Regions from separate parts of the Homo sapiens genome. Here regions 1, 2, 3, 4, 5 and 6 are each linked to region 7. The links are contacts of gene promoters, found by promoter capture Hi-C in blood cells and fetal thymus (Javierre and others, 2016). All regions are on one chromosome and are shown on one strand. Each heading gives the region's core, a stretch centred on a gene start or on the middle of the fragment in contact. The rest is flanking DNA. Distances are from core to core; before and after follow the strand shown.

What was found. The method cuts DNA at HindIII sites, captures the fragments that hold promoters and counts their contacts. A CHiCAGO score of 5 or more calls a contact.
Region 1: a contact is called between a fragment that was not itself captured here and the fragment with the promoter of OSCP1 in region 7, in 1 of 17 cell types (endothelial precursors). The highest score is 6.5, in endothelial precursors.
Region 2: the fragment with the promoter of SMIM12 here is called in contact with the fragment with the promoter of OSCP1 in region 7 in 1 of 17 cell types (naive CD8 T cells); the score reaches 5.6 in naive CD8 T cells.
Region 3: a fragment that was not itself captured here is called in contact with the fragment with the promoter of OSCP1 in region 7 in 1 of 17 cell types (endothelial precursors); the score reaches 5.4 in endothelial precursors.
Region 4: a fragment that was not itself captured here is called in contact with the fragment with the promoter of OSCP1 in region 7 in 1 of 17 cell types (endothelial precursors); the score reaches 8.0 in endothelial precursors.
Region 5: a contact is called between a fragment that was not itself captured here and the fragment with the promoter of OSCP1 in region 7, in 1 of 17 cell types (endothelial precursors). The highest score is 5.3, in endothelial precursors.
Region 6: a fragment that was not itself captured here is called in contact with the fragment with the promoter of OSCP1 in region 7 in 1 of 17 cell types (M1 macrophages); the score reaches 5.1 in M1 macrophages.

What each region holds. Positions count from the first base shown.
Region 1 is chr1:37,598,502-37,602,245 of GRCh38, reverse strand. No RefSeq gene overlaps it. Among named protein-coding and RNA genes, the nearest start is that of GNL2, 4.4 kb to the right of the region's middle. The HindIII fragment of the contact is 1,106 bases long and covers 1,164-2,269 here.
Region 2 is chr1:34,857,619-34,861,132 of GRCh38, reverse strand. It overlaps SMIM12 (small integral membrane protein 12), which reads left to right and starts at 1,384. Exons shown (of 2, transcript NM_138428.6): 1 at 1,384-1,456. RefSeq lists a silencer at 1,433-1,562. The HindIII fragment of the contact is 6,874 bases long and covers 704-3,514 here.
Region 3 is chr1:37,536,855-37,540,495 of GRCh38, reverse strand. It overlaps SNIP1 (Smad nuclear interacting protein 1), which reads left to right. Exons shown (of 4, transcript NM_024700.4): 3 at 1-339; 4 at 2,484-3,641. The coding sequence ends at 2,748. It overlaps LOC105378649 (a long non-coding RNA gene), which reads right to left. Exons shown (of 3, transcript XR_947190.3): 3 at 1,760-1,807. Among named protein-coding and RNA genes, the nearest start is that of SNIP1, 16 kb to the left of the region's middle. RefSeq lists an enhancer at 1-805. The HindIII fragment of the contact is 3,056 bases long and covers 90-3,145 here.
Region 4 is chr1:37,566,932-37,570,934 of GRCh38, reverse strand. GNL2 (G protein nucleolar 2) reads left to right here. Exons shown (of 16, transcript NM_013285.3): 13 at 1,633-2,084; 14 at 2,578-2,660; 15 at 3,171-3,262; 16 at 3,928-4,003. Among named protein-coding and RNA genes, the nearest start is that of DNALI1, 12 kb to the right of the region's middle. RefSeq lists an enhancer at 1,521-2,720. The HindIII fragment of the contact is 695 bases long and covers 2,406-3,100 here.
Region 5 is chr1:37,509,760-37,513,712 of GRCh38, reverse strand. MEAF6 (MYST/Esa1 associated factor 6) reads left to right here. Exons shown (of 7, transcript NM_001270875.3): 2 at 175-290. Among named protein-coding and RNA genes, the nearest start is that of MEAF6, 3.0 kb to the left of the region's middle. The HindIII fragment of the contact is 4,004 bases long and covers 79-3,953 here.
Region 6 is chr1:37,449,023-37,452,594 of GRCh38, reverse strand. No RefSeq gene overlaps it. Among named protein-coding and RNA genes, the nearest start is that of LITATS1, 24 kb to the left of the region's middle. RefSeq lists enhancers at 1-635, 38-1,237. The HindIII fragment of the contact is 7,035 bases long and covers 1-3,572 here.
Region 7 is chr1:36,448,884-36,452,540 of GRCh38, reverse strand. It overlaps OSCP1 (organic solute carrier partner 1), which reads left to right and starts at 2,090. Exons shown (of 10, transcript NM_145047.5): 1 at 2,090-2,283. The coding sequence starts at 2,172. It overlaps LOC107984940 (a long non-coding RNA gene), which reads right to left. Exons shown (of 3, transcript XR_001737976.2): 3 at 2,976-3,083. RefSeq lists a silencer at 1,695-1,964. The HindIII fragment of the contact is 5,222 bases long and covers 1-2,461 here.

The DNA of each region.
Region 1 (3,744 bases), core at 467-2,966, 1.2 Mb before region 7:
GTGGCTCATGCCTGTAATCCCAGCACTTTGGGAGGCCGAGGTGGGCAGATCACGAGGTCAGGAGATCGAGACCATCCTGGCTAACATGGTGAAACCCCGTCTCTACTAAAAATACAAAAAATTAGCCAGGCGTAGTGGCGGGCGCCTGTAGTCCCAGCTACTCGGGAGGCTGAGGCAGGAGAATGGCGTGAACCCGGGAGGCCGAGGTTGCAGTGAGCCGAGATTGTGCCACTGCACTGCAGCCTGGGTGACAGAGCCAGACTCTGTCTCAAAACAAAACAAAACAAAACAAAACAAAAACATCTAGAAGATTCCTCCAAACTGGGTTAAAAAGTGAGTAGGAAGGATTGCTTTTCCCAAAGATGAGGGAGTGATAGACTTATCTTTTTCTAACTGGGGCTCTAAAAAAGGAAACATAGCTAAAGGTTTTGACTAGTTCTTCCTCTGCTGCTTGAGAAGATATTCACCCTGACTTTCTTCCATACCTTTGCCTGAATCTCTATTTTAGAAATAAGATTTTGTTCCTAGTCTAGACAGAAGAGCAAGAGGGATGGAGGAGGTCAAGGAAAATCTCAGTGTCTTGCTGGGCAGAGGATGCCCTTAGGGCAAGACTGAACTTCTGACAGACAGAGCTCCACTGATCTGTTGGTTTTAGATGGGAAGTTAACTTTTCAGATTCTTTAACATGACATTATTCTACTGGAAACAAACCAAGGGACCTGGATAAAGTTTTTAAAAAGTGTTTTCTTAAAGAAAAAGGAGGGAGGTAGGCAGGAGAGAAGGGAGTAAAGAATTACACAAAGATTTGGTCTAACGGCTTCAAAATCAAAAGGATCCCTGGACAGATAGATATTGAGTGTAATAGGAAACACACTGATCCTGGGGAGATGACTTAATATAGGCCCTCCAGCCTCCTCAGAGCTTAAACAATTACCTACAATTTGGAATTATACTTTAAATTCCCACATCAATGTGTGTTCTGGATCCACTTCTCAGGACACGGCCAGCAGTCTTGAGTTATCTAAACCATGCTGAAAATTAGAGGCCATTAATAGCATCTCATAAAAGTGCTTCTCAGATTTTCTTGAGCAGAATATGCCGAAGACCACAAGGGATTTGGTGATAGGAAGGAGCGAAATGCTTCTAGTTATTTTTCCAAAGCTTAATCTGGGGATCTTTTTGAAGAGCTCCTACCCAGCAGTGAGATGCATGCCAAGACTAATACGACTGTTTTTCCCACTTAGAAGTGGTGACCATGAAGAAAAGTTTCTTGGGGTTCCCAGAGGTGAGTCTCCTAGCCATTTTTACAGGTAGCAAGCCCACTAGTTTGCTATATCCTTGTCCAAGAATTTCCCAGACACCCTAGACTGAAAACTGAGGGTAACTTGGCCTATGAAGCTCTAAGTTAATACACTTTTCTTTTCTTTTCCTTTTTTTTTTTTTTTTTTTTTTTTTGTGGCAGGGTCTCACTGTGTCGCCCAGGCTGGAGTGCACTGGTGTAAATCTTGACTCACTGCAACCTCTGCCTCTCAAGCTCAAGCAATTCTTGTGCCTCAGCCTCCCTAGTAGCTGGGTTTACAGGCGTGTGCCACCACGCCCGGTTAATTTTTGTATTTTTAGTAGAGATGGGGTTTCACCATGTTGGCCAGGCCGATCTTGAACTCCTGACCTCAGATGATCTGCCTGCCTTGGCCTCCCAAAGTGCTGAGATTACAGGCATGAGCCACCACGCCCGGCCGAACTTTACTTTTCTGATACTTGAATTTGCTTGTAAAACTGTTGAGGTTGTATAACCAAGGACTCACTTTTTTGTTTTCTATCAGTGAAACAAAACAACAAAATCCTGAAGATGTATATTCTGAGCCTTTCTCTGTTCTTCCAGAGTCCCAGAACCTAGCATTTGGGGACTAGGACTGTTTCACATTGGGCAGCGGCCATTCCAGGGGCCCAACTCTTGGCCTCAGCAGGCACGGGTCAATGCTTCATGGGCTTGCCAGAGGAGAGACACAAGAGGCCCCAAAAGAGCAGCTTCTGCTAGCAGTTCAACTGGGAAGTACAACTCAACAAGCCGGCACTAATTAAGAGCTAATGGCCTTACAAATGAGCATTGCCAAAGGATAACGACCCTCCGGCTGCAGCATAAATATCAAGGCATTTGGGGCAGAGCCAAGATATATATTTTCAGAGTGCATTAGACACTGCAGCAGCCTTCCTCACCCTGGCTCTGCTAAGAAGAACAAGATGATTTAAGATAGGTAGGAAAGAAGCTTGATCTTCCAGGGCTGCCTTCTGGTCAGCAGGTCAGAAAGCCTCCGAGTGACTCTTGGAAAAGACTTCACTTTTGTATATACAAGAATCACTTGAGGAGCTTGCTAAAATGTAGATTCTCTTGGCCCCACCCCCAAGATGGTCTGATTTTGGAAGCTCTGGGATAAAACCCAGAAATCTGCATTTTTGTTTTATTTTATTTTATTTTTGAGACAGGATCTCACTCTGTCACCCAGGCTGGAGTGCAGTGGCACGATCTCACTGCAGGCTCCACTTCCCAGGCTCAAGAGATTCTCCAGCTTCAGCCTCCCAAGTACCTGGGACTACAGGTTTGAGCCACCACGCCTGGCTAATTTTTGTATGTTTTGTAGAAACAAAGTTTTACCATGTCACCCAGGCTGATCTCGAACTCCTGCGCTCAAGCGATCCACCTGCCTCTGCTTCCCAAAGTGCTGGGATTCCAGGCATGAGCCACCATGCCCAGCATTTTAAAACAGATCCCCCAAGTGATTCTGATGCTTGTGGTTCTCAGACCACACTTTAAAAAATGTTGCTTTAGAAGCTGCTGCTATTTGCCCATTAGACCCCAGTGATAAACTTTTTACAGAATGAAGATAAAAGTGAGGTCAGGGCCCGGCACACTGGCTCATGCCTATAATCCCAGCACTTTGGGAGACTGAGGCAAGTGGATCACCTGAGGTCATGAGTTCAAGACCAGCCTGGCCAACATGGCGAAACCCCATCTCTACTGAAAATACAACAATTAGCTGGGTGTCCTGGTGGGTGCCTGCAATCCCAGCTACTCGGGAGGCTGAGGCAGGAGAATTGCTTGAACTGATGAGGCAGAGGTTGCAGTGAGCTGAGATCGTGCCATTGCACTCCAGCCTGGGTGACAGAGCAAGACTCTATCTGAAAAAAAAAAAAAAAAAAAAAAAAGTAAGGTCAGGATTGTCTGCTTCCTGTGAAGACACCAGTCCAGAACATGGCATTTCCAGCCAGTCTCCATCCATTAAGGTCTTCTCATTCACACAAACCTGTGGTTACCAGGAGCAACATTTGAGGGGATGAGTAGCTCACCTTGGATTTTGAGAAAAATAGAAAGCATCCCTGGCCGGTGCAGTGGCTCATGCCTGTAATCCCAGCACTTTGGGAGACCGAGGCGGGAAGATCTCGAGGTCAGGAAATTGAGACCAGCCTGGCCAACATGGCGAAACCCCGTCTCTACTAAAAACACAAAAATTAGCTGGGCATGGTGGTGCGTGCCTGTAATCCCAGCTACTTGGGAGGCTGAGGCATGAGAATAGCTTGAATCTAGGAGGCAGAGTTTGCAGTGAGCTGAGATCATGCCACTGCACTCCAGCCTGGTGAAAGGGCAAGACTCCATCTCAAAAAAAAAAAAAAAAAAAAGAAGAAAAATAGAAAGCATCCCATCTGCATGATGTGTACCATGTCTGCGATGCTTTCATATACTGTAAC
Region 2 (3,514 bases), core at 135-2,634, 1.6 Mb after region 7:
GGGAGGCTGAGGCGGGCGGATTGCTTGAGCTCAGGAGTTCGAGACCAGCCCTAGCAACATGGTGAAACCCAGTCTCTACAAAAAGTACAAAAATTAGCCAGGCCTGGTGGTGTGCATCTGTGGTCCCAGCTACTCGGAAGGCTGAAGTGGGAGGATCACTTGAGCCCAGGAGGTTGAGGCTGCAGTGAGCTATGATTGTGCCACTGCACTCTAGCCTGGGCAACAGAGCGAGAGTCCTGTTAAAAAAAAAAAAAAAAGCGGCCAGGCGCAGTGGCTCACGCCTGTAATCCCAGCACTTTGGGAGGCCGATGCGGGCAGATCACCTGAGGTCGGGAGTTCGAGACCAGCTTCCCCAACATGGAGAAACCCCTTCTCTATTAAAAATACAAAATTAGCCGGGCGTGGTGGTGCATGCCTGTGATCCCAGCTACTCAGGAGGCTGAGGCAGGGGAATCACTTGAACCTGGGAGGCGGAGGTTGCGGTGAGCCGAGATCACGCCATTGCACTCCAGCCCAGGCAACAAGAGTGAAATTGAACAACAACAACAAAAAAGGTGGGAAGGTAGATGAAAAAGCATCAATAAGGCACTGAGGTGTGAAACAGTGTGGTCTGCCGGGTTTAGTATGTGCGAGCAAAATAAATATGCAGGCTGAGATTAGTGGGATGAGGGTGGGAAGGGCCTTGTGGGAGCATTAACAAGCTTGAGCTTTGGGACTTTTCTGTATATGATAAAATTGATGTCTGTATAGGGTACAGTGGGGACACAGAGGAGGAAGTGAATACTTGTACCCAAGAGGTCATGTAAGACTTAGGTTTTACTATATTTGAATTATTTTTACACTAACAATAGCCACATTTATTTCCCTGCTGGCTGTGTGCCTGCCACAGTACTTTACAAATATTATCTCTTCCAACCCTCACACCATCCTTGCGAAATGGGTGTTATTACCTCTACACAGAAGGGGAAGGGAGGCTCAGACAGGTTAATAATGTTCCCAAGGTCACTAGAAAGCTAGCCCGGATCCCAAGAGGTCTTAAAGCACTAAAATATACTCTTCTAAGAAGAGCTTCTTGAGGTCAGGGATCATGTCTTTTGTTTTTGCGTGCCCAGACCTAGGTCTTAGAAGACGCCTAATAAACATCAGTTGAAAAAAATGACTGGATGATCTTTCACTTTTTCCACGCAGAAAACACGTGGCGACATCACTGAGAAACCTCCCGGCCAACAGAGGGCGCGACGTCCATTTCAGCGCAGTGGGGCCCAGTTGCGGACGCCTAGCTTCCTTCCGTCCTTTGGCTGAAGTTCAGCCAATCCCTGCGCTCCGAGAGAGCCGGCGGCCAGTGGGCAGGGTCACAGGGCAAGGTCCCGCGGGCCGCTGGGTGCGGCGACTTCCGTGCTCCCGGCGAGCGGGCGGAGAGCGGGGGCCGCACTGGGGAGTGTGGGCTGGGCCGCAGGTGAGCGCGCGGTCCCGGCGAGCAGGTCGGGTCAGCCCAGGCCAGTAACCTCTGAGTTACGGGAGGAGTGATCGCTAGGGTCCACCCCGGTCCCGGCCAGATCTGCCAGCTCCCCTCTCTGGCGGGTGTTCTGGTGCCAAGTCTGGGAGCCCAGGTAGCCCTCCGCAGACAGGGCTTCTCGGCACCTCAATGAGGACGGACGTTGATGAGGCCATGAATGAGGTGGGCTAGGGACAGGGGACCGGGAGACTCACAGAAGGGAGAAGGGTAGCCATTTGGATGGACCTTCGCCTTACTTGCGCTCCCATTCCTGGACTGCGCTCTAGTGACTGTCAGGGCTAATTCTTCCGCCTTCTCAGGCCTCCTGTGTCCTTGTTAGTAGTTCTTGAATTTGGGACTACGGCTTCTGGCCTCGTTGGGCCTCCGGGCCCTCGCACTGGGGCAGGTTTCCCAGCAGCCCAGTTGACCTTTACCGGATGCTTTTGGCAGACGTCCTCCATGCCGGGCTGGAAATATGCGTCACAGTGTTTTTCAGACACTTTTGCCTCTTTCATTGTGATACCCTGCCTGGGGACGACTATGATGGAGTCTTTAGGTTTTTGTAATCAGCAAAGGCATCTGTTATGCTCCTGCCACCTTTTGGGGGAGAGTGGGTGGAGGATGTTGTGATTTTACACTAGGGAGTTTGGGCTGTCATTCATTCGTTCAGCAGACCTTTTTTGGGCACTCTGCCAGGCAGGGTAGGAGAGGTGCCTGGATGGATAGGGCATAATTGGGCCAGACAGACACGGTTCTTAGCCTTTTGGAGCTTAAAGTGTCTTGAGAAACGCAGACAGGGTAAGCCAGCATCGTGCCTGACACAGAGTAAGTGGTTATAAGTGTCGAATAAAGGAATGAATTGACTTATTTGGGAATGATTAGAATGTGAGCAGGACGGTAGCGAGAGACTTTATGCTGCATGTGAGAGATAGTTGTGAACTCATGCGCGATATGTTTTAAGACAGGTTTGGAAATCTGAACGGACAGTTGCTATTTAGGGAAGCATTTACTTATACAGAGGACTTGCTTTAAAGGTGGAAGTAAAATGGAGAAGTATTAGGTTTGGGATTCTTCAGAGGTGCCTCTTTTAACTATTACTATGTCTCTGAATTTCATAAATCCCTGAGTACAATCTCAGAGTTTGGGAAAAGGAAAGCTCTTCTAGGTAATGAAATGCCAGGCTGATGGGAAAAAACTGTAGGAAGCTCTCCCTAAGTCCAGGGTTTGGACAGAAACCGTATACCTCTGCAGTGTGTTCTTCCCACTAGAAAGAGTGTAGGCTTTGAAATTGGAGAGGCCTGGGTTCAAAATCAGTGGCTCTATCACTTCTAGTGATCTTGGATAAGTTAACATAATGTCTGTGAGCCTTTGTGGCCTTCACAAGAGTCTGGGCTAATAATTCCTACATCATAGAGGTGTTATGAGGATCAAATGATGATTAGTGTGTAAATTGTCATCATAGTGCCTGGTGCTGAGACAATAAGCGGGGGAGTCTTGGAGATGCTGCAATTTTTTTTTTTTTTTTAAATTTCATGATGCTGCCTTATTGCAGGGGTCCTTAACCCCCTGGGCCACAGACCAGTGGTGGTCTTCAGCCCATTAGAAACTGGGCTGCACAGCAGGAGGTGAGCGGTGGGCAAGCTGGCAAGCATTACCGCCTGAGCTCCACCTTCTGATAGATCAGCAGCGGCATTAGATTCTCACAGGAGTGCAAACTCTATTGTGAACTGCGCATGTGAGGGATCTACGTTGTGTGCCCCTTATGAGAATCTAATGCCTGATGATCTGAGCTGGAACAGTTTCATCCCGAAACCATCCCTCTCCAACCCCCATCTGTGGAAAAATTGTCTTCCACGAAACTGGTCCCTGGTGCCAAATATAGATTGGGGACCGCTGCCTTATAGTGTTACGTCTAGAGAACATTGGGATTCCTTCAAAGAGAATTGGAACCAAAGAGAGAGGGGGAGAATCATCTTATCCTTGGTGAGGTTTCGATTGTTCACTTTAGATCAGAGATAG
Region 3 (3,641 bases), core at 368-2,867, 1.1 Mb before region 7:
TGGTGGCGGCAGTGAGTCTCAGGAGTTGGTTCCTCGGCCTGGTGGCAACAACAAAGAAAAAGAGGTGCCCGCTAAAGAAAAACCAAGCTTTGAACTTTCTGGGGCACTTCTTGAGGACACCAACACTTTCCGGGGTGTAGTCATTAAATATAGTGAGCCCCCAGAAGCACGTATCCCCAAAAAACGGTGGCGTCTCTACCCATTTAAAAATGATGAGGTGCTTCCAGTCATGTACATACATCGACAGAGTGCGTACCTACTGGGTCGACACCGCCGCATTGCAGACATTCCAATTGATCACCCGTCTTGTTCAAAGCAGCATGCGGTCTTTCAATATCGGTAAGTAACATGGAGGAAGAAACTGTAATGTGAGCAGAAACAATCACTCAGTTAGGATTACTAAGATTTTTGTTCATGTTTATGCAGAAGAATCCCATACCCCTCATATGTTATCTAAAGAGTATTGTTAATCTAACTGCCCTTTAAATAATTGCTTACATATTTATAAGAACATTAAACTTTTAATCTATTTTTTATTTTTTTGTGACAAGGTCTCACTCTGTCACCCAGTCTAGAGTGCAGTGGAGCAAACACAGCTCACTCCAGCGGCAACCTCCTGGGCTCAAATGATTGTCTCCTGCCTCGGCCTCCTGAGTAACTGGGACCACAGGCGTGTGCCTCTGTGCCCAGCTAATTTTGAAACTGGATCTTGATAGCTTGCATGGGACATCTGTGATGATTCTCACAACAATCCTGTGAGAAGGATAGGATAGATTTTTTGTTTTTTGAGACGGAGTCTCGTTCTGTGCCCAGGCTGGAGTGCAGTGGCGCGATCTCAACTCACTGCAACCTCTGCATCCCGGGTTCAAGTGATTCCCCTGCCTCAGCCTCCCGAGCAGCTGAGAGTACAGGCACACACCAGCACACCCAGCTAATTTTTGTATTTTTAGTAGAGACGGGGTTTCATTGTATTGGCCAGGCTGGTCTCGAACTCCTGACCTCGTGATCCGCCTGCCTTGGCCTTCCAAAGTGCTGAGATTACAGGTGTGAGCCACTGCGGCTGGCCCGTTTTGTTTGTTTGTTTTTTAACATGGTCTCCTGACTTCGAATGGACACGTATTTGTATCCCCATTTGACAGATGAGAAGACTGAAGCCCAGCAAAACCAAGTGACTTGCCTAACAAATGATCACTATAGTACAGTGGTCCCCAACCTTTTTGGCACCAAGGACCAGTTTCATGGAAGACAGTTTTTCCATGGAACCGGGGGAATTCGGGATAATTCAAGTGCATTACATTTATTGTGCACTTTATTTTCTAATACTATCACATTGTAATATATAATGTAATAATTATACAACTCACCATAATCTAGAATCAGTGGAAGCCCTGAGCTTGTTTTCCTCCAGCTTGATGGTCCCATCTGGGGGTGATGGGTGACAGTGACAGATCAGGCATTAGATTCTCGTAAGGAGCGCGCAACCTAGATCCCACCTGTGCACAGTTCACAATAGGGTTCATGCTCCTACGAGACTCTAATGCCACTGCTGATCTGACAGGAGGCGGAGCTCAGGCAATGATAATTCAAGTGATGGGGAGCAGCTGAAAATATAGATGAAGTTTGGCTCGCTTGCCTGCTTGCCCGCTGCTCACCTCTTGCTGTGTGGTCCGGTTCCTAACAGGCCACGGACTGGTACCAGTCCATGGCCCAGGAGCTGGGGACCCCTGCCATAGTAGAACTCTGGCTCAAATATAGCTCCCTTGACTCTGAAGTCCAAGTGCACTGTTTTTTCCCATTTGGACAGGAACTAAAATATATTGAAATATAGGTTAAAGAAACATTATGTTGATTATAAACAACAGAAAAAAATGTATTTTCTTAACCACAGCAAGAGACATTGGATTCTGCATTTCCACCTTTTGATCTACCATGGATTCTCCCCACCTTCCAGCAACTCATTCTCACCTTTTTTTTTTTTTTTTTTTTTGAGACAGAGTCTCGCTCTGTTGCCCAGGCTGGAGTGCAGTGGCGTGATCTCGGCTCACTGCAACCTCTGCCTCCTGGGTTCACGCCATTCTCGTGCCTCAACCTCCCAAGTAGCTGGCTCCACAGGCGCCCGCCACCATACCTGCCTAATTTTTTTGTATTTTTAGTAGAGACGGGGTTTCACCATGTTAGCCAGGATGGTCTCCATCTCCTGACCTCGTGATCCGCCCGTCTCGGCCTCCCAAAGTGCTGGGATTACAGGCGTGAGCCACCGCGCCCGGTCCATTCTCACCTTTTCTAAGTATATTTAAACTTCCAATTTTCCTTCCCAGGGCCATGCTTTCCCCTTGATTTCTTTGATTCCCTAGAATTTTAACTTGAATTGTGCTCAAGCCAGGTTATTTACGTCATCTAGGCTATCTTAGCAAAGAGCTTTAGAGAAGCTGGATGATCTGAGGCAGAAGTTTGCTCACAGGTTTCTCCTTTTTTTCTGCTAGGCTTGTGGAATATACCCGTGCTGATGGCACAGTTGGCCGAAGAGTGAAGCCCTACATCATTGACCTTGGCTCAGGCAATGGAACCTTCTTAAACAACAAACGTATTGAGCCACAGAGATACTATGAACTAAAAGAAAAGGATGTACTCAAATTTGGATTCAGTAGCAGAGAATACGTCTTGCTCCATGAGTCGTCGGACACTTCTGAAATAGACAGGAAAGATGACGAGGATGAGGAGGAGGAGGAAGAAGTGTCTGACAGCTAGCAAACTAAGAACCCAAACTATTGATACACGGTTTCCTTCTTGGAAGTCTTTGATTGACTCAGAGAGCACTATGGTGGTGGGTCCAGCACTATGGTGCTCTCTGTAATGCCTCTTACTGCCTTAAGTCTTTCCTCTGTTGCTGACCAGATTGTGTTACCATTTGAATACACTGACTAATGTTTGTTAAACTTTTTCTGTGGCACCTTGGCCACATGCCTGCAGGCATTTGTTTTCAGAACAGTCTCACCAATTACAACACACCGTGTTTTAGTAGAAGTGTTGTGGTTTTAGTTGGTGCTTTCAGAACTGCTGCCTAGGAAACTATAAACCCTTGGTTAAGGGGAAATCATGGCTTGTTCTCTTTGTACAGTTACTTTATTTATATAGGTGTTAAGCTTTGTGGACCAGGTGTTTTTCTTTTGGGGCGAACCCCTGAGCAGAGAATCTTACTAGGCTTTGGTTATCACCAAAACAACCTCCAGTATATACCAAAGCTTTGACTTGTTTGAGCTCTTGAGCTTAGAAGTTGATTTTGCACTTATTTTTTTGGGGGGTGGGAATGTACTGCAGTCAGTAAACATTATTGACTGTTTAACTTAAACAGATGCTTTATGGCACCTGCTCAAGCCCGTGACTGTACAGAAGGATCCTGGTTGCTACCAGTGGGTGCTGATTCAGCATCACAAGTGACTGAAATTGGCTGTGGATCTGTTCTTTGTGAAAGAATTCCTGATTTCTCCATGGAGCATGTACACAACAATTTTGATCATATTAACTGTACTTCAGTTTTGCATTTTTATTCAAATGTTATCTCTTTTTTTCTTTGAGAAATAAACTGTCACTGATGTGACAGCGTTCTTTCTTTATTCTAATAACATGTATAGATCTAAAGC
Region 4 (4,003 bases), core at 1,504-4,003, 1.1 Mb before region 7:
TGCAAGGATAAAATGATATTATACATGTGAAACACCAGTAGAAAGCTTGGCACATACTTATCTTTGCGGTTACCTAAAACAGGCCAGTCATTTCAGGGTCCCCAGACTTAGTTCTCTAATGAACTCTCTTCAATCACAGAATTCCCCCTCCTTACCTTATACTCTTGCTTCAGGATGCCTCCTATCTTAGTCTGTTTTGTGATGATGCAACAGAATACTACAGATTGGGTAATTATAATGAACAGAAATTGTTTTGGCTCATGTTTCTGGAGGCTGGGAAGTCCAGTATCAAGGCACCAGCATCTGACAAGGGTCATCCCATCGTGGAAAGTGGGAGGACAAGAGCAAGCAAGAGAGGGTCAAACTTGCTTTTATAACAAACTCACTCTTTTTTTTTTTTTTTTTGAGACGGAGTCTTGCTCTGTTGCCCAGGCTGGAGTGCAGTGGCACGATCTCGGCTCATTGCAACCTCTGCTTCCTGGGTTCAAGTGATTCTCCTGCCTCAGCCTCCTGAGTAGCTGGGACTACAGGCATATGCCACCAGGCCCAGCTAATTTTTGTATTTTTAGTAGAGATGGGGTTTCACCATGTTGGCCAAGCTGGTCTTGAACTCCTGACCTTGTGATCTGCCCACCTTGGCCTCCCAAAGTGCTGGGATTACAGACGTGAGCCACCACATCCGGCCAACAGACTCACTCTTAAAAACGAACCCATCCCCGAGATCCATTAGTCCATTCATGGGGATGGAGCCCTCATGATCTAATTACCTCTTATTAGGCCTTACCTACCAACACTTGCTGCATTGGGGATTAAGTTTCTGTATCAGTCCATTTTCATACTGCTATGAAGAAATACATGAGACTGGTTAGTTTATAAAGAAAAAGAGGTTTAATGGACTCACAGTTCCACATGGCTGGGGAGGTTTCACAATCATGGCGGAAGGTGAAGGAGGAACAAAGGCATGTCTTACATGGCATCAGGCAAGAGTGTGTGTCCAGGGAAACTGCCCTTTATAAAACCATCAGCTCTCGTGAGACTTAATTCATCATAGGAGCGGCATGGGAAAGACCTGCCCCCATAATTCAATTACCTCCCACCCGGTCCTTCCCACAACACATGGGGATTATGGGAGCTACAAATCAAGATGAGATTTGGACACAGCCAAACCATACCAGTTTCCAACATATGAATTTTGGGGGACACATTTAAATCAGAGGACCTCCTCAAATGCCTCTCTTAGTACTGTTCTCATCTGTAACATCCAGCCTGGCCTTCATTTTTATGTAGTTGTGTGTGCTGATTTTGCATGTGCTTATATCAGCAGCCCCCTAGGGAAGGTCTAGGGAGCCTTGCTTTTCTATGATAAATCATTGGTTGGTTTTAATGGTTTAAATAGTCTTAGTTGGTTCATCCTGTGGAACTACACATGTATTCCTTTGATCCTAGTACTGATCTCTGGGCTTAATGTACATTGGTTTAAAAATACATTAATGAAATGACTCAAATTTGGGTGTTTTCAATACCTTCCCTTAGTCCTGAGAAGAGGACTGTTTAAGAGCAAGATATGAGTTCAGAAATTCCATTTTTCATTTTCTGATTCTATTTATTTCCCCCATTTCCACCCCTTAATAGCTTCTACCCTCCTCATCTTTGGAAGTTGTCCCAGAAGCAGCCCAGAACAATCCAGGGGAGGAAGTCACAGAAACTGCAGGTGAAGGGTCAGAATCCATCATTAAGGAAGAAACAGAAGAGAACAGTCACTGTGATGCTAACACAGAGATGCAGCAGATTCTCACACGAGTTCGGCAGAACTTTGGTAAAATCAACGTGGTGCCTCAGTTTTCTGGGGATGACCTGGTTCCTGTGGAGGTGTCAGATCTTGAGGAAGAGCTTGAGAGCTTTTCTGATGAAGAGGAGGAGGAACAGGAGCAACAAAGAGATGATGCGGAAGAGTCTTCCTCGGAGCCTGAGGAGGAAAATGTGGGAAACGACACCAAAGCCGTTATTAAAGCACTGGATGAGAAGATTGCCAAATATCAGAAGTTTCTAGACAAAGCCAAAGCCAAAAAGTTTTCAGCAGTCAGGTAATATTTTCATCTTCTCACAAATTGCAGATTTTCATTCCTTTCCCAAAAATTTGCCATGAGTACCAGAGCCATATTTTTACATGGGGTTATTGCCATTTGTTTGTTCGGTTGGGTTTTTTGTTTGTTTGTTTTTTGAGACGGCGTCTCGCTATGTTGCCTAGACTGGCCTCACTCTCCTGGGTTCAAGCAATGCTGTCATCTCAGCCTCCTAAGTAGCTGTGACTACAGGTGTGCACCACCACACTTGGCTGTTATTGCCATTTTTAAAAAGTGAACTGTAAATTTTGTAAAATTCAGCTGCCTGCAGTATGAGAAGCTTTAGAAACACCCAGGGAGGTACAAACATGTTGGATGTTGACTTCTTCCACTGGTGATAACTACTTGGATAGGAGTGGGGTTTCTTTAGTCTGTGAGTTTGTCGCAGGTCTCCAGGTCAGTATGTGATTCGGGCGAGTGAGAGGAGGAATGTTACTTTGCTTTTCTGTTTCAGAATATCCAAGGGACTGAGTGAAAAGATATTTGCAAAACCTGAAGAACAAAGAAAAACACTGGAAGAAGATGTAGATGACAGAGGTGAAGTTAAATTATTTCAATCATTTAGATGTAATTTGCATATTTAGAGTTTTGAGAAACCTAAGTTCAGTCTCCAAATTATCTCAGTCATCCACATAAATGTTTGTCATATCTGGCAGATTACTTTAAATTTACATAGTGTTATGCAAATTGAATTATCTGCTTTTCATTCTGCACATTTTTTAGGATTAAATTGGCAATTCAGGAAACTTCCTAGAAAGGGTTCATTATTAACCTAGAATCCAAGGGTGGGTCCACAGACAAAGAGGGGGGTGTGTTTCCTGCATTTATCCATTCCTCCATTTGACCATCAGCTTTCACACTGAGAGCATGGCTTAGGGCATCCTTTTACCTGGCAGCCTCCCCTTGGCCTGCTTTACTCACCACTGTGCTCACCTGCTCTGTCCACATTGGGTGTCCTCCTCCTGATACATCAAGCTTGTTCCCACCGTTGGGTTTATAGACAAATTTTCAATAGAAAATTCCTGTTTGTGTATTGTTTGTATCCAGCACCTTCCAAAAAGGGAAAGAAGCGGAAGGCACAAAGGGAAGAGGAACAGGAACATTCAAATAAAGCTCCCAGGGCGCTTACATCAAAAGAAGTAAGTGTCATAGGTTTTAAGTATGGCCCAAGTAGAGTAACTAGAACTCCAGTTGTCAAGACCCACTGAAACAAATGGTCCAGAGCTGAATCCCAAGAACCCCAGTCCTCGTTGACCTAGTTGAGGTCAGATAAATAGGGTCGGGTCTGGCCCACTAGATGCAGGTCCTTGAGTCCATGTCATACGTTTTAGGAGTTTCTAATCAACGTCTCCACACGAGTGGACTATCCTCTAGAGGAGTCAGTTTCTAGTCCCAAGGGAAACGACCCAATGAGCAGATCTGCTTTGGGCAGATCACTGACTTCTGTGAAGGACAGCTTTGGAGCTGAGCTGTTCAGAGCTAGAGTGGGCCCTCTGGGGAGGGGAGTGGTTAGCAGCACTCAGCCTTGCTGCAGGGGACTTGTCAGGAGTGATGCAGAACAGATTCTTGCACTGGCTAAGGGTTGGATCACATGTGGATTTGTAACTTGGAGTTGCATAAGTCACAATGGAAGAGTAACCTTAGGTCTACGGGGGAGCCCTCCCTCATTAGCACTGCTTCCAGTAGCTGTGGAAGCAGCACGGGAAATAGAACACAGAGATGAGAAGCAGAGACTCCTGTTTTGTGAATGACTTTCAGGGTTTTGTTGTTTTTTTTCTTCATCTTTTCTTGCCATTTTTTACAGCGGAGGCGAGCAGTACGACAGCAACGGCCGAAAAAAGTTGGTGTGCGCTACTATGAAACACACAACGTGAAAAATA
Region 5 (3,953 bases), core at 831-3,330, 1.1 Mb before region 7:
TAGACTGTCTTAGTCCTAAACGGCTCCTCCTCCCCGTATCTTCCATCTCTCCACAGGGTGGTTTAGTGTGGGCAAGCTTGCGTTTACGAGTCTAATATCAGGATTTCATTTTGGCCAGACTTAAGTGTTTGCATTTAAAAGGTATCATTCATGTCCTTGTTTTTCATCTCTCAGGAAACATTGGCAAATTTGGAGCGACAGATCTATGCTTTTGAGGGAAGCTACCTGGAAGACACTCAGATGTATGGCAATATTATTCGTGGCTGGGATCGGTATCTGACCAACCAAAAGTGAGTGTCGAAAGCCTGTAGTGTTCCTATTGTGCCCTAGTAACGTTTGTTTTTAGGACTGTATGCTCTTAGTGGCAACTTTGCTGGAGGCAGTAGTAAAGTAGTGGTGTGATCTGGACTTGAACTCTTGGACTCTGGCTCAGGCACTGCCTCACCGAATAATCTTAGACAAGGCTCACATCTGTAAAATAGCGAAAGTTGGGCCTATGGCACAGGGTTGTGTGAGGCTTAAATACAGTATCTTTATACAATAGCATTCTATTAAATTTTTTACACATTTTAATCAGTCATGAGTTCTACCCTCACAGTATTTTTCTTTTCTTTTTTTCTTTTTCCTCCTGAGTAGCTGGGATTACAGGTGCGTGCCACCATGCCTGGCTAATTTTTTTATTTTTAGTAGAGACGAGGTTTCTCCATGTTGGCCTGGCTGGTCTCGAACTCCTGACCTCAGGTGATCTGCTGCCTTGGCCTCCCAAAGTGTTGGGATTACAGGTGTGAGCCACCACGCCTGGCCACTTTTCTTTTTTCTAAGAGACAGGGTCTCACGCTGTTGTCCAGGCTGGAGTGCAGTAGCACGAACTTAGCTCACTGCAGCCTCAGACTCCTGGGCTGAAGTGATCCTCCCACCTCAGCCTCCCAATTAGCTGGGACTACAGGCACACCATACTGTACCTGACTAATTAAAAACTTTTTTTTGTAGAAGTGGGATCTCACTTTGTTGCTCAGGCAGGCCTGGAACTCCTGGTTTCAAGCAGTCCTCCTGCCTCAGCTTCTCAAAGTGTTGGAATTAAAGGGGTGAGCCACCACGCCCAACTGACCCTCACAATTTTTGCCATACCTGTGTGCCAGCTGTACCACTGCTTACTTAGTAATATTATTTTTAAAAAATTTCTAAACTTTTAGAAAATCTTCAAATTATAGGAAAATGGGAAGAATAGTATATGAACACTTGATACCCTCCTACCTATATTCACAAATTGTTAATGTGTTGTGACATTTGCTTTCTCTTACTTTCTATAATATATATTAATATAAGCACACATCTATATTTACATTTCACATTTTTAAATTGTGAAATAATTATAGATTCATAGGGAGTTGGCAGAATGGTCTCTTGTACCCTTCATCTGGTTTTCCCCAATGGTTGTGTTTTATGTAGCTATAATACAGTATCAAAGCCAGAAAATTGACATTGGTACAATGTATATATATAGTTCTGTGTCACTTTATCTTGTGTGTAGATTCATGTAACCACAATGAAGTTACTGAACTATTCCATTACCACAAAGATCTTCCTCATGCCACTCCTTTGTAGTTATATCTCCCAGTCCCCCTACCTTTTTTTCCCACTTAACGGTTTGAAAGTTAGATGCAGGTAAATGACACTTTGCACCTAAATGTGTCAGTAATTACCTCCTGAGTATAGGGCCATTTCTTCTACCTAACCAGTTATTATACCTAGAAAATCAATACTGCATTAATAGTATCTAATACATAGTCTTTATTAAAATTTCCTCAATTGTCCCCAAAAATTCTTTGCTAATTTGTTTTGATCCAGGATTCAGTAAGCATTCATGCATGCATTTGGCTATTATGTCTTAAGATTGAGGAGAGTCACCCTTTTGGTGGTGGTTGTGGTGGTATTCATGACATTGCCTTGTAGAATGTTGCAGTTTCCTGAGATTTTCTGAGGGCAAAACTCATGACTGATTAAAAGGGTCCTGAAAGATCCTTTAAACATTTTTGCAAAAATCTTACATAGGCAATTGGTGTATCCTTTGTTATCTATCTCTAGTTTATCAGGAGGCACATAATGTCACATTGTCCTATTATTTGTTGCTGCTAAGTTTGATCATATGATTTATCTGCTATAAAAGTTCATTTTTTCCCATTGTGATTAACAAGTAATTTTGGATGTTATGCTTTGAGACATTATGAATATACTGCTCCCTCTAAATTTGTATTCAGTTGTTTAGTATACACCGTTGATTCTTATCTGAATCCGTTAGTACACTGGAAGTTGTAAAATAGTGATTCTCTAATTGTATTATTCCCTTTATATTTATTACTGGCATTCTGAAAAAGAGTCTTCCTTTTTTGACTTCTGTTTCTTTCATTCTCCCACATTTGTCCCAGCTGTGGTCAGAGGGAGCCTCCTCAAGCTGGCTTGTTTGTCGTTTCAACATGACCCTATTACTTTTGGAGTACTCCATTGCTTTCTGGCCTAAGAGATGTCCCATACTTACCTTTTGCATTTTTTGTCCCAGACCTGGTATCAGCCATTCCTCTAAGGAACCCTGGTTCTTTCTTTAAATTTGAGAATTAAGTTTATTTAAGAGACACTTCATATCACTAATCTGTTCTCCACTTTTTAAATAATAAGCATTAAAATAAATATATATTGGCCGGGCATAGTGGCTCACGCCTGTAATCTCAGCACTTTGGGAGGCCGAGGCGAGTGGATCACCTGAGGTTGGGAGTTCAAGACTAGCCTGACCAACATGGAGAAACTGTCTCTACTAAAAGTACAAAATTAGCCGGACGTGGTGGCACATGCCTGTAATCCCAGCTACTTGGGAGGCTGAGGCAGGAGAATCGCTTGAACTCGGGAGGCAGAGGTTGCAGTGAGCCGAGCTCGCGCCATTGCAGTCCAGCCTGGGCAACAAGAGTGAAACTCCGTCTCAAAAAAATATATAAATAAGTAAATAAGGTAAAATAGATACGTATTAAAATGAAAGTGTGGCCAGGCACAGTGGCTCACACCTGTAATCCCAGCACTTTGGAAGGCCAAGGTGAGTGTATCACTTGAGGTCTGGAGTTTGAGACCAGCCTGGCCAATATGGTGAAACCCTGTCTCTACTAAAAATACAAAAATTAGCCGGGCATGGTGGGGTGCGCCTGTAGTCCCAGCTACTTCAGAGGCTGAGGCAGGATAATCACTTGAACGCAGAAGGTGGAGATTGCAGTGACCCTGGATCGCACCACTGCACTCCAGTCTGGGAGACAGAGTGAGACTCTCAAAAAAAAAAAAAAAAAAAAAATGGCTAGGTGCAGTGGCTCATGCCTGTAATCCCAGCACTTTGGTAGGCTGAGGTGGGCAGATCATGAGGTCAGGAGTTCGAGACCAGCCAGGCCAATTTGGTGAAATCCCGTCTCTACTAAAGATACAAAAAAAGAATTAGCTGGGTGTGGTGGCACGTGCCTGTAATCCCAGGCTACTCTGGAGGCTGAGGCAGGAGAATCGTCTGAACCTGGGAGGTAGAGGTTGCAGCGAGCTGAGATTTCCCATTGTACTGCAGCCTGGGTGACAGGGCGAGACTGCGTCTCAAAAAAAAAAAAAAAAAATGTCTGGGCGCGGTGGCTCATGCCTGTAATCCCAGCATTTTAGGAGGCTGATGTGGGTAGATCACCTGAGGTCAGGAGTTCAAGACCAGCCTGACCAACATGGCAAAACCCCGTCTCTACTAAAAATACAAAAATTTGCCAGGTATGGTGGTGGGCACCTGTAATCCTGGCTACTTGGGAGGCTGAGGCAGGAGAATCGCTTCAACCCAAGGGGCAGAGGTTGCAATGAGCTGAGATTCTGCCATTGCACTCCAGCGTAGGCGACAGAGCAAGACTCCGTCTCAATAAATAAATAAATAAGTAAATAAATAAATAAAT
Region 6 (3,572 bases), core at 516-3,015, 1.0 Mb before region 7:
GGAGGTGTCCTTCCGGGCCTGGTGGAAGTGGGCTAGGGGCTGTGAGTGAGAAGACTTCTATAGGCCGAGGCACTGGGTAGACACCTCACCCCCAGCCATCTGTGGACCCTTTGTGACCCTTTATGCTCCATCTCTGTCTCCCCCACAATCACCGGAGAAACAGGATCTGGGAATTCTGCCTTGGTGGCCGAAGCAGAAGTCACTGCCCTCCTAATGCCACTCATCGGACCACACAACACTTTCACCGCCAGTCCTTGTGTGATTTGATCTTTGCAAATCAGAGATAGTACTGTTAATAATTTCCCTGCAGGAAAGAGGAAGTTAAGGATATGAGGAATTGCCGTCAGGATCAGAGGTAAGGCCCGGAATCCCAACAGACTCCCATTCCCAGCACCTTCCGGGCACCCGCCTTCGAGGCCTTTCCCCTCCCTGCCGCTTTATAATGCTAATTGAGGGAATGAGTTTCCTTGGCCTGAGAGTGGGCTAGGGCTGGGGCTGGGACCCAGGGCTTAGGCAATCCCAAGGGTCTGGAAAGGAAAACAGGTCAGGAGTAGAACCCTTTCCCAACACCATGGGCCAGCTCCCAGGCCCCATCTTGGGCGTGGGGGATTTGGAGTAGGATGACCATATAATTAGTCATCCAGATTAGGATACGTTTGGGAATGAAAGGGAGTGTCATTAAAAGTTACCCTAGGGCGGCCGGGCGCGGAGGCTCACGCCTGTAATCCCAGCACTTTGGGAGGCTGAGGCAGGTGGATCCAGAGGTCAGCAGTTCGAGACCAGCCTGGCCAACATAGTGAAACCCCATCTCTACTAAAAATACAAAAATTAGGCTGGTGGCTCACGCCTGTAATCCCTGCACTTTGGGAGGCCGAGGCGGGTGGATCACCTGAGGTCAGGAGTTTGAGACCAGCCTGGCCAACATGATGAAACCCCATCTCTACCAAAAAATTAGCCTGATGTGGTGGCGGGTGCCTGTAATCCCAGCTACTCGGGAGGCTGAGGCAGGAGAATCGCTTAAACCCAGGAGGCAGAGGTTGCAGTGAGCCAAGATGGTGCCACTGCACTCCAGCCTGGGTGACAAGAAAAAAAGCTGGCATCGTGGTGTGCACCTGTAGTCCCAGCTACTCAGGAGGCTGAGGCAGGAGAATCGCTTGAATCCGGGAGGCAGAGGTTGTGGTGAGCCAAGATCGTGCCACTGCACTCCAGCCTGGGCAACAGAGCGAGATTCCATCTCAAAAAAAAAAAAAAAAAAAGTTACCCTAGGGCAATAGCTGAGAACCCCCACGAGGTCATTCTGTGATGGAACCCCTGCCCTGCCCTCCCCCTCCGCAGCTTCAGACCCCCACACCCTCTCCTGCTGCTGTGTCTCCAACTGATGCTGAAAGTAAAAGCCGCCACTCACTGGCCGGTTACCTGCCCAGCACTCCACAGAGCTTGTTTTTTGTGACCTTCATGACAGCTGTGAGTCTCATTTTATTGATAGAGACACTGAGGCCCAGAAGAAACTGGCCCAAGAACACACAGGTGGTGAGTGGTAGAGCTGGGATTTGAACCCAGGGAGGCTGGCTTTCCTTGGAAGGATTATACGAACATTTTAATTGGTTTGGCCCACAAGAATTGAATTGCGAAGGAATGAGGCTTCCCAAGCCTTTCATCAGACCGTCCGCAGTCTCTTGTAGCTGTCTTCAGCTCAGGGACATCATTAAAAGGAACTTTGCAGCTTGGGCAACAAGGTGAAATCCTTTCTCTACTAAAAAAAATTTTAAAAATTAGCCAGGCGTGGTGGCGCGAGCCTGTGGTCCCAGCTACTACTTTGGAGGCTAAGGTGGGAGGATCACCTGAGTCTGGGAGGCAGAGGTTGAAGTGAGCCGGAATCGTGCCACTGCACTCCAGCCTAGGCGACAGAGAAAGAACCTGTCTCCACAAAAATATTTAAAAATTACCTGGGCGTGTTGGCACGTGCCTATAGTCTCAGCTACTCAGGAGGCTGAAGTGGGAGAATTGCTTGAGCCCAGGAGTTTGAGGCTGTAGTGAGCCATGACACTCCAGCCTGAGTGATAGAGGGAGACTCCGTCAAAACCAAACAAAACACAAAACAAAACAAAAACCCAAAAAGGCCGGAGAGGTGGCTCACACCTGTAATCCCAGCACTTTGGGAGGCTGAGGTGGGAGGATTGCTTGAGCCTGGGAGTTCTAGACCAGCCTGGGCAACATAACGAGACCTTGTCTCTACAAAAAAACAAAAAAAACTAGCTGGGCATGGTGGCATATGCCTGTGATCCCAGCTACTTGGGGAGGGGTGCTGAGGTGGGAGAATCCCTTGAGGCCAGGAGGTCGAGGTTGCAGTCAGCTTTGATTGTGCCACTGCACTCCGGCCTGGGTGACAGAGCTAAACCCTGCCTCCTAAAAAAAGGAAGTGGGTGGCGGGTATGGGGGAGGGGGATGTGTGGGCAAGGGAAGGAGGGAGGTGCACTCAGCAGGGGCAATGTGTAAGGAGTATGCAATGGAAGGGAGGCAGCCGGATGTCATTAGTCAAAGTTAACATTTGTTATGGACCTACTGCATACCGGGCTCTATTTAAAGTGTTTTCAAGGTACTATTCTATTTAATCTTCATACCAACCCTATAAGCTGGGTTGTTTTACAGATCATCACTACGAAGAGCAAAACAGGCCACTTGCCCACCTTGACAGAGCTGGTAAGTGGCAGAGCCAGGACCATCCAGACGGCTCAGCTTCCAAGCCAGCAAGCCTCATCGCCATGCAGTTTGTCCCCAGGGAGGAAGGATGCTTCTGGTCCCAGGGTCCAGGATGCTCTACCCTCCTTCCTCTAGGATATCCAGGGGGCCAGCTTTAGTGAGAGGAGAGTGCATGGTCCAGCCTTCTGGGGGCACCCAGAGTGTCCCCTTCCACTCCCAGCTTCCCACTTCTGCTCCACTGTCTCCCTGCAGGAGGCTCTGGGAAGGCAGAGATGGAGCTGTGGTCCCCACCGCCTTCTGTGGCAGCTCACTTTCATTCATTTTCTTTAAATGCTTCTCACTCTCTGTTTTTAAATCTAATTTTTCAGCTTCTTTTTCATCTTCATTCAAGTTGCTTTAATGAAACGAAAATGTGTCTGTTTCCCTCTGCTGGAGCTGCCCGGGGAATTTCAATATAAAACAAACAAGTTGGCTTTTAAAATTAAAATTTTATGGGTGGCATTTCCTCATTTAATGGGTGGCACAAAAGAGTGGAGTAAAACCAATTAACATGGGGTTGAGACTCGGTGTTCAGAAAAACTAAACAACAGGAGCGCGGTGCGCCAGGAGCCAGGAGCAGTTCCAGCAGAGGCTGGGGAGGTGCGCGGGTGAGGCAGTTGTGGAGGCTCCCCCCACTCCCTGGCAGCTGTGTGCACCCAGGTCGGGCACTAGCACATACAGGGATGCCAGCCTCAGCTCCCCACCCAGCTCTACCCCCAGGACCCATGCCCAGGGGTTGGTGTGCACATCTACCTTGCACATTCAGATGGCAGGCGATAGTGGGGGCTGAGAATGTGGAGGGGCGGGGGAGGCTGCCTTGGAGCCCTGGGGTC
Region 7 (3,657 bases), core at 841-3,340:
CAAGACTTTTCAGTGGTGTGGTAATGAGGAAGAGGCAGCCTGCTGACAAGTTCAACTGGACTGGGGGAGAGGAGGTGGCCAGGTGCAGGAGATGGCTTTAAAAAGGTAGTTGGCCGGGTATGGTGGCTCTCACCTGAAATCCCAACAACTAAGGAGTCTGAGGTGGAAGAATCACTTGAGGCTAGGAGTTCTAGGCTGCAGTGAGCCACCAGGGTGCCACTGCATTCCAACCTTGGGCAACAAAGTAAGACCCCTATCTCTTTAAAAAAAAAAAAAAAAAAAAGGTAGCTGGAGCCTGTGGAGAGCCTGGAATGCCATGCCAAGGCATCTAGACTGTGATCTGGCAAAGAGTAGGAAACCACTGAAGGGATGTGTCATGTTGACAGTGATGCTGGCCGGGCGCAGTGGCTCATGCCTGTAATCCCAACACTTTGGGAGGCCGAGGCGGGCAGATCACCTGAGGTCAGGAGTTCGAGACCAGCCTGGCCAACATGGTGAAACCCCATCTCTACTAAAAATACAAAATTAGCCGGGCATGGTGCCCTGGTCCATGCCTGTAATCCCAGCTTACTCAGGAGGCTGAGGCAGAAGAATCGCTTGAAACCAGGAGGCGGAGGTTGCAGTAAGCCGAGATCGTGCCATTGCACACCAGCCTGCGCGACAAGAGTGAAACTCCATCTCAAAAAAAAAAAAGTGATGTCTTCTGACATTTAGCTTAGCAGCCAGTGCAAGGTAGAAGAGAGAAAAGAACAGTGATACAGAGGAACATAGCAATGCAGACAGAAAAACAAATGAAGGGATGAATGTAAGAAAGGTGTTGGAGGAAAAAGCATAATATGATGACTGATAAAAGACCCTGGGAAACAGATTTGGAAGCCAAGGCCCAAGTTTCAAGTTTGAGTAGCTGGAGGGAAAGATAATTAGTAGGTTTTGGAAGTACTGAAATTTACAGAAATGGTTGTTCATCAGAGTAAAAATATACAGCAGATGGCAAAAAGTAATCCTGGAGCTTAAGATGGAGGTAAGGAAGGGAGTCGCTGCCCTCAAAGAGAAATGGTTGGGGCCGGGCGTGATAGCTCACGCCTGTAATCTCAGCACTTTGGGAGGCCCAGGCGGGCAGATCACCTGAGGTCAGGAGTTCCAGACCAGCCTGGCCAACATGGTGAAACCCCGTCTCTACTAAAAATACAAAAATTAGCCGGGCATGGTGGCGGGCGCCTGTAATCCCAGCTACTCGGGAGGCTGAGGCAGGAGAATCGCTTGAACCCTGAAGGCGGAAGTTGCAATGAGCCGAGATGGCGCCACTGCACTCCAGCCTGAGCGACAAGGGCAAAATCCGTCTCAAAAAAAAAAAAAAAAGAAAAAAGAAATGGTTGGGAGGCCTTCGGAACAGCGTCGAGGAGGGAACTTCCCAGAGCCCCCAGGCGCATCCTCTGGGAACTGGACACACGGGGACGGACGGGACTGGTTTGCTTCATGGAGTATGAAACCAGGAGGGGCTTCACTTCAAGTAAACTTTTGGGAGGCGATGCAAACGACTCAGGACTTCTGATCCTTCCCTCGTCTAAAAGAAAAGTCAGTTACCATTTTTATTGAGTGCTTTCGGGGCCTTTCCATGATCTGACTGATTCCTCTCAGCCGCCCTGTGATGTGAGTGCCAGCTCCATGTTACGTAAGAGGAAGCCAAGGCTCAAACCCTGCCCGAAGTCACACAGCAAGAAATCACGAGCCGTGATTCCAACCCAGGTCCGTCTGACCCGAGCCTGCTCTAATGCCGTTCTGCCTGGGCTTTCCTCTGTTATAGGAACCTGAGGCCCCGCGCCAGCGGCCGGGGTCCCAAGCGCCGGGCTGGCTGTGTCGAGACCACCCCCAGCCCTGGCCCGGCCCTCGCCCTTTCGAGGGAAACCTACTCTCAGAAGCACAGCTCCCCAGCCGCGCCCAACGCCGCGCCGGCCTCTGGCTCGGACCAATCCCCCCGGGACGGTCCACCACCCAGACCAATTAGCTCCCGTCTTCAGGGCACCTCCCACCAAACCGCCTTCTGATTGGCTCGCTCTTCCCGTCACGGCGTTGCCCCAGCAACCGGACTATTGGGACGCTGCGGCCTGGCCTTCAGGCCACTGGCTACCGAACCCCGGGGCTCTTCACCAGTCCAGCTCGTTTCCAGCACCATGTCGGTGCGGACGCTACCGCTGCTCTTCTTGAACTTGGGCGGGGAGATGCTTTACATCCTCGACCAACGGCTGCGGGCCCAGAACATCCCGGGAGACAAGGCCCGCAAAGGTGAGAGGCCCCCGGCCCGCTCAGCCAGACCCGCAGCCAGCAGCCCGGCCCTCTCATCATCGCCCTAACACCCACAGCCAGACCCGCACCCCTACACACTTCACTCTTATAACCAGGGACCTTTCTTACAAGCCACATCCATTTGGAGCCCCTCGGGAGTCAAATCCCCCCAAAAGCTTTTTTCACAGCAGAGGAACTTAATACTCCCAGTGGACACTAGGGTGCCTGACCTCCCTAATTTCCCCATCTCTTCAAATGGGAGAGGTGATTTCCCAGTCTCTCTTGTCAATCAGTGCCTTCCAAATGTAGGAGTCCCAGCTGCCCACCATCTAGTATCATACCCCTTGCTAGTCCAAGCATCCTCTTTACCCCCAAGGAACAGGTTCTGATTTTTTTTTTTTTTTTTTTTTTTTTTTTTTTTTGAGACAGGGTCTCGCTCTGTCGCCCAGGCTGGAGTGTGTGGCACGATCTCGGCTCACTGCAACCTCTGCCTCCTGGGTTCCAGCGATTCTCGTGCCTCAGCCTCCCAAGTAGCTGGGATTACAGGCATGCACCACCACACCCAGCTAATTTTTGTATTTTTAGTAGAGATGGGGTTTCACCATGTTTCCCAGGCTGGTCTTCAATTCCTGGACTCAAACGATCTGCCCCCCTCGGCCTCCCAAAGTGCTGGGATTATAGGCGTGAGCCACCGCGTCCAGCCCAGGTTCAGATTCTTAATTTCTTTATGGTAGTATCTTCCCACATAAGCTGGAGATTGGTCTTACTCATCTCAGAAGTATTTCTAGAAATTTGGTGTTCTAAAATAATATAGATAAATATGAAAAAAATAAGAAAGTTATAAATCTCCTCACAAGTGTTGGAGGGGAATACAATTGTGAAAATAATTATATGAGAGCTTCGAAAATGCAAAATCTGCCTCCCATGGACACCACACTAATCCCCAGAAAAATGACGACTCAGAACACTCTGCCACTCTGTTCCTTTTCCTCTTTTCCTCCCTTCTCGGCAAACAACTTGCTTATACCAAATTTCCTAGGATTAAGTATGAAGGAAATATTATATTTCAAAGTGGAGGAGGAAAAGTTGAAAAGGCAATTGACATGGCCGCCAATTAAAACATTCTCTCCATTAATCTTTGTATGCTCAATTGATGTTCAACATACATATTCAGATGCTAAGCATACATATTCAGATATTAACTATTGTGTGTGTGTGACTGAGTGCAAGTCCATGCATAAAGAGCTAAAAATAACTCCCTATAACATACCCCCTCCATTCATTCTGCACATTGCCGCCAATGAGCTTTCTAAAATGTGTATCTGTCCAAACTTGCCCCTGCCTAAAACCCTTTGTCAGCTTTCCACTGCCATC